3 separate regions of the Homo sapiens genome follow, and all the other regions are linked to region 3. Evidence: promoter capture Hi-C in human tissues and cell types (Jung and others, 2019). All regions are on one chromosome and are shown on one strand. The core of a region is centred on a gene start or on the middle of the fragment in contact, and the rest is flanking DNA. Distances in the headings are between cores, read along the strand shown. Region 1 overlaps NAF1 (nuclear assembly factor 1 ribonucleoprotein). Region 2 has its middle 24 kb from the start of NAF1. Region 3 holds the start of NPY5R (neuropeptide Y receptor Y5).

Evidence for each region. Contacts are between HindIII fragments. The study calls those that stand out against the background at their distance.
Region 1: a contact is called between a fragment that was not itself captured here and the fragment with the promoter of NPY5R in region 3, in 1 of the 25 tissues and cell types used here (dorsolateral prefrontal cortex).
Region 2: a contact is called between a fragment that was not itself captured here and the fragment with the promoter of NPY5R in region 3, in 1 of the 25 tissues and cell types used here (H1 embryonic stem cells).

Annotation. Positions count from the first base shown.
Region 1 is chr4:163,154,217-163,157,997 of GRCh38, reverse strand. The region is part of intron 2 of NAF1 (nuclear assembly factor 1 ribonucleoprotein); the gene reads left to right. Among named protein-coding and RNA genes, the nearest start is that of NAF1, 11 kb to the left of the region's middle. The HindIII fragment of the contact is 3,581 bases long and covers 1-3,362 here.
Region 2 is chr4:163,189,201-163,192,860 of GRCh38, reverse strand. No RefSeq gene overlaps it. Among named protein-coding and RNA genes, the nearest start is that of NAF1, 24 kb to the right of the region's middle. The HindIII fragment of the contact is 5,452 bases long and covers 1-3,660 here.
Region 3 is chr4:163,342,464-163,345,932 of GRCh38, reverse strand. NPY5R (neuropeptide Y receptor Y5) reads right to left here and starts at 2,041. Exons shown (of 4, transcript NM_006174.4): 1 at 1,933-2,041; 2 at 180-219. It also overlaps a transcript of NPY1R not described here. The HindIII fragment of the contact is 9,678 bases long and covers 1-2,896 here.

The DNA.
Region 1 (3,781 bases), core at 323-2,822, 190 kb after region 3:
AAGTCATCAATTTACTGATACTCTTTTTTGCTCAATAAGCCTTCACAAATGCTTGAAAAGTCAACAGTGTTGTAAATTATAAATGTTACCTTTTCAGAGGGCCACTTTTGACATATTAGCTTCTTCCATTTTTGCATTGAAAGTTTTAGGCACCCATTTTTTGACTGGTATGTCTATAACCTCATTTTTAATAGGATGGATTTTTAATGTTATGTGGTACTCTTTTGAATATTTTGCTTAACTGAATAACCTTGTAGACCATACAGATGTTAGAAAATTAAAATATAATAATCTTACAAAACAGACAATAATTGCTCTTTCATGGATATTCCAGAAGTGTGGTTAGGATCTTGCATTTCTTTAATGCCATCGTTACGAGTATCTGTTATCACAGAAGCACAGTAATTTTTTTATTGGGATCTAGTATATAATTTCTGTATTAATGTGTTGTCTTTTTGATTACATGCAGTTGGACATTTAAATTGTCGTTAGCCATTTGTGTAACTGTTTAGAACTTGTGCTCAGTTTCCTTACTATTCGTAGGTAAGAAAAATGAAACCAGAAAGAAAGAGACTTGTCTGAAGTCATATTAGTGGGGAGGAGCAGATCTGAACTGGTAATAGATACATTCCAAACTGCTGTGTTTTTAGTATTTGTGGAGACCTGCATAGCAACGTTGGAATCTGGTCGTTTGGACTTTCTCATTATTTGGTTTCTGAATAATCATGTAGCATATTTTCTCAAAGTGAAGGATGAATGTATCATCTAATGTAAGCTTTTTAAAATTGTATTTGCTTGGATTATATTGCCTCTCAATAAAGCTTTTGACTTGGAACTGTGTAGTGTGTGGGAAATAAATGGTGGAGCTTCTTTAGTATGTTGAATTTTAGTAGTTCATTTGCGAAATGCTGTGGTGTTTGGGGATGTTTATTTCCATGCAAGCTTTTCATTTGCTAATGATGTGAATGAAATAGTTTTCTTCCTTTCCTTTCCTACTCTTTGTTATGTGTAGAAGTATTGAATAAATGAGTCCAGAAAAACTTTTTGCTGTTCTTTGATTTTTTGTTAGTAAACATTTACAAAAATTTCATTTGTATGATAAAATAGTTATTTCTAATGGCAGATAATGTACATCCAGAACAGGCTTTTAGTTGCATTTTAATTTTGGGAAACAATGAAATTAAAATATAGATTTATCACAAATCTCCATTTCCAAGTAGAGTATTCAGGTTAGCATTAAGACTTCATTAGTAATATGGTGCATGCTGTTAAAATGTGGTCTTAAAATTATACCTGTGTTAATGGCCAGAAATAAATTGATATTGTTAATGCCTGGGAATATGTTTTGTAATGGAGGGCTTTTTTGATGTGTGAGAATGTAAAGCAGTGCTGTGTAATAGAGCTTTCTACAGTGTTGGGGATGTCCATATTGTGCTGTCTTACTTGAAATGTGGCCAGTGTGACTGAAGACCAAATTTTAAATTTTATTTAATTTTAATTAAATTTAAATTTGTATCTAATATTGAGTAAACAAAACAAAAAGTCTTTCCTATCTACTCATCATTCTTTTAACAGGGGTTGTTGGTATCCAGGCAGATACTTTAATCTTTCTAATCTGCACTAAATCACCTTGTCTTTTATTTTTAGTACCCTTGGTTGTTGCTTATGTGTGATGAAGAAGGTCTTTCTATCCCAGGCCTTTCCTATCACCTCTACCTTCAATTTTTTTAGTTTATTAGTATGCCTTTTACATCTAATTCTTTGTATCTTCTGTGCACTGCCAGAGTGGTAATGTCCCACAGTATGTTTTCTGAGACCAAATTTTAAATTTTATTTAATTTTAATTAAATTTAAATTTGTATCTAATATTGAGTAAATAAAACAAAAAGTCTTTCCTATCTACTCATCATTCTTTTAACAGGGGTTGTTGGTATCCAGGCAGATACTTTAATCTTTCTAATCTGCACTAAATCACCTTGTCTTTTATTTTTAGTACCCTTGGTTGTTGCTTATGTGTGATGAAGAAGGTCTTTCTATCCCAGGCCTTTCCTATCACCTCTACCTTCAATTTTTTTAGTTTATTAGTATGCCTTTTACATCTAATTCTTTGTATCTTCTGTGCACTGCCAGAGTGGTAATGTCCCACAGTATGTTTTCTGGCCGTATTTTCCCCTTTATTGGAGTGTGTCTGTGTTTCTCTTCTCTGTCACACATATACACCCTTCCCTGAAACGTGGAAAAGCAAAGTGATTGATTTTTATTTCCTTAAAGGAGATTTTATATCTGAGGAGATTTATTCATTATCTTAGGAGGGGCAGCAGGTGTGTTTTCAGGGAGCCAAGTGTTAATCTAATAATTGTAATAATGTTTGCTACTGCAACCCAGAGGTACCTATGCATCAATCCTAGGCAGTTAAGCTTCCTTGGAAGCCTGGCTTTTAAATTTTATTTTTGAGAAGATTAGGTTCAAGTCTTTTTCATTCTTTGAGGATTCTATATCGGGTTATATTTTCATTATCTGATTTCTGCTCAGACAAAGACTGACTTTTGAGATTTTTGCTAAGCTTGGACTGAAGAGGTAGGTTAGTTCATCTAATAGATATATATTAATACTAAATACCTACTATGTGCTAGCCATCTTTTTGGGTGCTATAGCAATGAGCAAGACTGGGTCCTCGTTATGATTGGGACTAAAAAGGTCTTAGTTATGGTTGGATTTATTGTGTAGTTAGAGAAATAGACATTAAGTAAATACAGAAATATTGGACAACAATGTGTTTAGAAAAAAGCAAAGCAGCAGGATAGTTTGATAAAGAATGACTAGGCTTGGTAGTGATACAGTAGATTAAATTTGCTAGTTGAAAAAGAGATGGTGACATTTGGCATTCATACATCAAAACAAAAATCTTATATTACCTTGTCTGACATGGCTGCCAAAGGAAATCGCTTTTTGTACCTTTCAGAGATCTATCCCCTTTGAACCTTCTAAAGTTCTCTCTGAACCTGCCAAAAATTTTCATGGAAAGCACATCTCTTGGGTGCCTTCCTGTTGGCGTTTGAGTTATTTTTCCTCTTTGTTCTCCTCTCTCGCTCTGTTTTTTTTTTTTTGTTTTTGTTTTGTTTTCTGAGATGGAGTCTTTTGCTCTGTCGCCCAGGCTGGAGTGCAATGGTGCGATCTCTGCTCACTGCAACCTCCATCTCCCAGGTTCAAGTGATTCTCCTGCCTCAGCCTCCTGAGTAGCTGGGATTACAGGTGCCTGCCACCATGCCTGGCTAATTTTTGTATTTTTAGTAGAGATGGGATTTCATCATGTTGGCCAGGCTGGTCTCAGACTCCTGACCTCAGGATCCGCCTGCCTTGGCCTCCCAAAGTGCTGGGATTACAGGCATGAGCCACCATTCCTGGCCTGTCCTCCTCTCTTAGCATGCTCATTTAAAAGAAACAAATAGATCTGTTTTCCCTTAATTCAGACCTCCACATATGTGCCTTTTTCAAAATTAATATATACTGCTTCATTTAACTGTACTTTCAAAGGCAGACTCTATAACAGGATCTTAACCTGGAATTATACAAGGATGGTTTCACTTACCTCTTACATATTTTGTATATACTATTTAGTTTTTATATACCTTTTATGTTTTGTGGAGTATTTGGGGCGAGACTTCATGTGCATCACTTTTATAGGTAGAGTTGTTACTATCAAGAGGCAACTTAATGCCATCACTGGCCTTTTTTAGGAATGCACAGGAAACTGTACGTTCCTATATTACAGAGTACTAGT
Region 2 (3,660 bases), core at 283-2,782, 150 kb after region 3:
ATAATAGGGACCACGAGGAGGCCCGAGAGAGACAGAGACAGCATAAAAGAAAGACTGAGGCTCCAGTACCTGCTTTGCAGGCTTGCAAAGTCCAGGATCCCTGAGGTGCATCTGCTCATTGCTATCGGTGTGGCAGCCAGGGCACTTTAAAAAGGAGTTCCAAAACAGCAAAAAGAAGCCATCTCAACCCTGTCCAGCCTGTGGTGGAGACCACTGGAGATCAAACTGCCCCCAAAGACAGAGGTCACTGGGTTCAGAAGCAGTCTCACAAATGGTCCAACAGGACTAATGGGTCCTGGCGCTCAAACCCCAGGCTCCAGCAGCTTAAACTGCCATTACAGCACAAGAGCCTCACATGATTCTAGGAATTGAAAGAAGGAAGATAGACCTCCTTCTAAAGACTGCAGCCAGTATCTTTCTTCTCTCTAATCCAGGCCTCCCTTCTTCCCAAGGCACGACCATAAAGGGCATCTCAGGAAAAATTCTAATCCAGTATCTTTCTCAACCCCTTAGTTGCAGTTAGGAGGACCTATTATTTACACATGTCTGCAAGCCACTGCCACAGTGGCTCTGCTAGTCAAAGAAGCCTCCAAATTAACCGTGGAAAATAACTTAACTGTTTATACCCCACATAATGTGGCAGAATTACTGTCCTCTAGAGGGAGCCTTTAGCTAACCAACAGCCAGTAAAGCAAGAGACACGTAACGCAGGATAAGCAGTGGTCACCCTAAATTACATCTCTCCCCAGACACAAGCACTCAATTAGCTGAACTAATAGCTTTTACAAGAATACTTGAATTAAGCAAGGGAAATGTAGGCAACATTTACATTGACTCCAAGTATGCTTTCTTAGTTCTCCATGCTCATGCTGCCATTTAAAATGAAAGATATTTCTTACTACTAGTGGATCTACTATAAAATATCACCAGGAAGTTAACAGGTTATTATCCTCAGTTTTCCCTCCACAAGAAGCAGCAGTGATGCGTTGTAAGGAACATCAAAAGGAAACACATGAAATAGCTGAAGGAAACAAGTTAGCTCATCAGGAAGCCAAGACAGCAGCAAGAAAGCCTCAGGGCCTCAACACACTTAAAGCCCCTCTAGCCTGGGAAGGCTCCATAAAAACAATTAAGCCTCAGTAATCCCCTGCAGAAATGGAGTGGGCCACTTCTTGGAGGTACACTTTCTAGCCTTCAGGACAGCTACAGTCAGAGAATGGCAAACTCCACTTGCCAGCCTCTAGACAATGGAAAGTCCTTAAAATCCTTCACCAAAATTTTCACCTGGAAAAGGAAAAAACTTACCAGTGTGCCCAGAGATTGTTTTCAGGAGATTATTTGATAAAAAAAGAAAAAGAAAAAAAAAAAGCCAAATAGGTTATTAATGCTTGAAAAGTCTGTCTTAAAAATAATTTCCTCAACAAACGGGTCTTTCCTCCTCAAACCCAAAGAATAGAAAGCTATCCAGGGAAGACTACCAAATGGACTTCACCCACATGCCAAAGACATGGAGAGAAGAATTTCTCTTCACTAACTGGAAAGAAGAATTTCAATGCTGTACAGAAAAGCCTGTGAGGTAATAAAAGTGCTAGTTAATGAAATAACCCCTGGCTCTGGTCTACCTAAGTATCTCCAAAGTGACAATGGCCCCTTATTCAAAGCAGCTGTCACCCAGGGAGTCTCAAAGGCACTAGGCTTATAGTATCATCCCCATTGTGCTTGGAGGTCCCAGTCCTCAGGGAAGGTACAGAAAACAAATGACATTACCAAAATACACCTCAGAAAACTTCTAGGAAACTCACCTCCTTGGGTCACTCTTCTTCCCTTACTACTACGGCCTTACTACAGAAAAAAAAAATACCCCTTGAAAGTTAAGCCTGAGTCCTTGCGAAATGCTGTATGGACGGCCTTTCATTACAAATGACTTCCTATTAGATCAGAAAACTTCTAAATTAGTTAAGCATGCAACCTCTCTAGCTCATTTCCAACAAGAATCAACACAACTAGCAGAGGCCCAATACCAAGAAATAGGACCACCTGTTTTTAACCCAGGAGATTTGGTTTTAGTAAAAACTCTCTCTTCCTCGCTCTCCTTCCCTAAGCCCAAGCTGGGAAGGGCCCTACACTGTTCTTTCAATGCTCTCTCCCACTTGGCAATAAAAGTTACAGGTATCAACTTCTGAATACATCACACTCAAGTAAAAGCCTGAAAATCTGAGGGAGCAACCCGACAGCCCAGAGAACACCCTGAATATCAATGTGAAGAAATAGAAGATACTAAGCTGAAAATCATAAAAGATAAGTAACTGAGGGCTACTCGCCTTACTCAGTCCCATCTTTACCTCACCAAATCCTTTTTGTTGTTTCTACCTTCCCTCTCAAAATTCACCACCAAATATTAGAACTTCTTTTTAACAGATATTTGCAAGGAAACTTTAATTACTCATACACTTGCATTTATAACTTCATAGGACCCCAGAGGGAAACTATATCTTGGCAAGTAAAATTTTAAATGGAAATTATCTATCACGCCACTCTCGCAAGAATTGTTATACTCACTCCACTATTTGCAATAGAACTATACATTGTGGTGAGAGGTGACAGCGTGATGGCAGTCCTCACAGCCCTCGCTGGCTCTCCGCGCCTCCTCTGCCTGGGCTCCCACTTTGGCGGCACTTGAGGAGCCCTTCAGCCCACCGCTGCACTGTGGGAGCCCCTTTCTGGGCAGGCCAAGGCCAGAGCCGGCTCCCTCAGCTTGCAGGGAGGTGTGGAGGGAGAGGCGCCAGCGGGAACCGGGGCTGCGTGCCGCGCTTGCGGGCCAGCTGGAGTTCTGGGTGGGCGTGGGCTTGGCGGGCCCCGCGCTCGGAGCAGCCCGCCGGCCCTGGCAATGAGGGGCTTAGCACCCGGGCCAGCAGCTGCGGAGGGTGTACTGGGTACCCCAGCAGTGCCAGCCTACCGACGCTGCGCTCGATTTCTCAGCAGGCCTTAGCTGCCTTCCCGCGGGGCAGGGCTTGGGACCTGCAGCCCGCCATGCCTGAGCCTCCCACCCCCTCCATGGGCTCCTGTGCCGCCCGAGCTTCCCCGACGAGCGCCACCCCCTGCTCCAGGGCGCCCAGTCTCATCGACCACCCAAGGGCTGAGGAGTGTGGGCGCATGACACCGGGACTGGCAGGCAGCACCACCTGCAGCCCGGGTGCGAGATCCATTGGGTGAAGCCAGCTGGGCTCCTGAGTCTGGTGGGGACGTGGAGAACCTTTATGTCTAGCTCAGGGATTGTAAACGCGCCAATCAGCGCCCTGTTAAAACAGACCACTCGGCTCTACCAATCAGCAGGATGTGCCTGGGGCCAGATAAGAGAATAAAAGCAGGCTGCCCCAGCCAGCACTGGCAACCCGCTCGGGTTCCGTTCCACCGTGCGGAAGCTTTGTTCTTTCGCCCTTTGCAATAAATCTTGCTACTGCTCACTCTTTGGGACCACACTGCTTTTATGAGCTGTAACACTCACCGCGAAAGTCTGCAGCTTCACTCCTGAAGCCAGCGAAACCACAAGCCCACGGGGAGGAACGAACAACTCCAGACGCGCCGCTTTAAGAGCTGTAACACTCACCGCGAAGGTCTGCAGCTTCACTCCTAAAGCCAGCGAGCCCACGAGCCCACGGG
Region 3 (3,469 bases), core at 792-3,291:
TGGGGGAGGGGTGGTGGTGGACGTGTAGTTTTTTTAAAAGTGCCTCCTGGTAGCCAGGGGATAGTTTAAACATTAGGAAAATTTTGTACAATAAGATTTAAGTTGAAAATCTAAGGTACAGGAACGCACTTAAAATGAAAAAACAAACAAAAAAGCAGGATTTTTTCCATTAAACTTACCCTTTCCCTTCCTTTTTCCTGAAAAACACAATGAGCAGACCTACAATGGAAATCCAAATTTCAACAAGTGTTATTACGAGTGCTGTACATTTTTATGCAACATATTTTATCTATTATAAAAGTAATGATATATGTGAATCTTCTGAAATTGCTATATAAATTATGAAATATAGCCAGAGAAAAAATATTTTAACATGGAATATTATTTGACAAGAAATCTGATATTGACAGCATGAGACTTTTGTCATACCTAATTACTATATTTACTCATTCTCTTTTGTATTAGTTGTATCTCCCACCATCAGAATTTCCAGGCTGAAACACAGAACTTTAATCTCTGAGTAAAAAGTGTGAAAAATAAAAGTTCTTTATTAAACTATGGCAACTTATAAAAAATAATATCTTTTTAAAGGTTTACTGGAATTTTCTTATAAACTCTTCTATATCTGACACCTAGACAAATGAAACCTTCTGAATAGATTTTAAGTATTTTAAGAAAGTAGATAGTTCTCAAGAATAATAGGAGGAACTGCAGGGAATTCAAAGGATATTAAAAGTCTGACTTGTACATTTAAATAAGGTTTCTTTGTTTGAATAATTTTTTGCTTTATGAAAATACACATCATTCTTTTCACAAAGGATGACAATCACACAAAAGAATAAAATATATGTAATTCTTTTTCCTCCTGCAATGATACAATATCAACTATTGTCTGTTTTGCTGTGATCGTGGAACAGCAGCATGATTCCATGTTCTCAAATATTCCCATGGTTTGTTCTTAAAGCCAGAATCTGGCACAATTTGAATTGGAAAGATAAATACAGCTCTGCTCAGCTGACAAACACACAGGCATGCACCACCCTCCCTTCCAAATTCTAACAGCAGAGTTTCTCTTCCCTTGAGAAATCTGAAATCTAAAATTGCATTCGGACTGCAAAATTCTGCTGAAAGAGCCTTAGGCTATTTTCCATGGTCTAAGGTAAAATCGTTTTGGCTTTGGTCCAACACAACGCCTCAGTTCCTTTAAAAGATTAACTAAAGGTCTGTGAACTTGGAAAAAAGAATTCCCGTTTCTGGAATTCGAGTTCTATGGATGTTTGTTATTGCTCGCATTTGTTATATGAAGACACCTCGCAAACAGGAGCGCAAACCTTAGAGCGCAGCTGCCTCCCGGGCTCGGGTCAGCGCTGGACCGCGCGGCAGCTGGACGGCCTGAGTGGCGCCCCGCGGGCTGCGCCCCCGGCCTCGCCAGAGACCCGCTAGGGTTGAGCCCTGACCCGGGCACCCCGCGGGCTGCTGTTCCCAGCTCCGGATGCCAGCCGGGCTGCAGCCAGAGCGCGTCCAGCCGGGGGCAGCGCTTTGTCCATCCCCCGCCCCATCCCCAGGAGGCTCCTTCGCGGATCCCCGACACTCTCCTCCCGGGTTCGGCCCGCGCCTGCTCCACCCGGGTGAGTTGGGAACCGGAGGGACCTGCTCGGCACGAAAGAATTCAGCCCAGTACCCTCTCCGCTGTCTCTTCACTCCTGACAAGTGCCTGTTCCGCCACCCTAATCCCCATTTTTCCAGCCGCGCTCCCTTCACCTTCCCCACCCCGCTCTCTTGGGACCCCCGACAACGCCCTGGCACCAGAGACGGGTGCGGGCTCCCAGGGACCTGCGCAGACTCGCAGCCCGCGCGGGGACCCGCCACGGCCCCTCGGTGCAGGCCTACCCGGCGCGAAAGGGGTTGGCAGGGAGGGGCGGGAGCCCGTACCTCGGGGCGCCCCGGCCGCTGCAGGCCCTGGGCTCCCGGGAGCGCGGCCCAGCGCGATCGCTCCTGCACCCCGGCGGTGGCGGCAGCAGCGGGAGCAGGACCTGGAGGCGGCGGTGGGGAAGAGGGGGCGGGGGTTTAACGGCGTCTCGAGAACACGTGACTGTTCCGGGGACCCCCGAGACCCTGCTCCAAGGCGCCTGCTCCGCGCCAGCCTCTTCCAAAGCCGGGGGCCGGGGGCGTCCCAGACCTACGCCGCTGTTTGGGCGCTCTAGGGAGAAGCCACAGGGCCCCGGGATGTCGTCCCTTCACCCTGGCCTCGGGTCCCAGGCCGACCAAGTTAACTTGATGGGCAAATCGAGTTTTGCCGGTCCAGCCCTCAACCCTGTGTAGTGAACTCTGAGAAGTCTTGGACTGGTGTGAGGATGGCTGTGCCCCTAAGTTCTTAGTATTCCTGAGAACAAGCTTCGACTCTCAGGTTTTATCTTTGTTTGGGGTGGGGGACGGTGGGGGGTGGTGTGGTGATAGAAAGAAAGAAAGAAAAAAGACAAAACACTGCTCTTCCTTTGCACCTCTTTGAAGTAAGGAAGAGTGGAGGTGGGGAGGCTGACCCAATGTTCAGGAGAGGCAACAGCGTCTGCGGTAATGAGCCCAGCAGAATAGAAGGGAAGTTTCCCCACTCCAAGGAGTGGCAGCTGTGGGTGTGGGCAAGTGGCAGGAGCAGGGGAGTGAAGCTGAAATGAAATCAACGCTGCTCAAGACTATATTCAATAGCAAAGAGAAGACGAAGGGCTAAAAACGAATTGTCACAGGTTAAAAAAAAAAAAAGACGGGAAAAAAGCCCACACAAAAGAAGAAGAGAAAACCTGTCCTTCTGTTCCTTCCCAACATGATTTCCATCCCTAATGTTTCCAAATCTGTATTGCGCAGGTTTGCTTTATTTTTAGCTAATCATTAGGTGGCAGGTACTTTAGGCGCGCGCGCGTGTGTGTGTGTGTGTGTGTGTGTGTGTGTGTGTGTGTCTGTGAGAGAGAGAGAGAGAGAGAAGGAGAGAAGGGAGAAAAGAGACATTGGGTAGATGTCCATGTGTCTTTGGACATAGCTTTACCATGAGAAAGGGTGTAGTTATTGTACCCTTTAATACTGAGAACTATTATGTAACAGACAGCATCTCCTGCTGAGTAGAGTCGTGTGGGATAAACCGAAGAGAACTGTACCCCTTGGGAGCAATGTGACTTGTAATTCTAACATCTGGGGCAGACATCACTGTTACAGAAGAGGTCAAAGAAAATTTTTTGTGTCCCCTTTCTGCTGGATTTCAGCATTCAATACTCAGGGGATCTGTATAGATTGCTATTTCATCAGTCAAAGAGTCATCCAAGAGCTTTTAAAGAACTCAAGTAAACACAGTTCCTGTTTTATTCTTCTGTGTGTTATTTCTGAAATATTAATATATTCTCCCCAAAAGCTTAACAGAATAGGCCGTCTGAGCAGGCACCTGGGATTCTGCAGTAAGGAGTAGGGGATGAAAGTGTCAAGA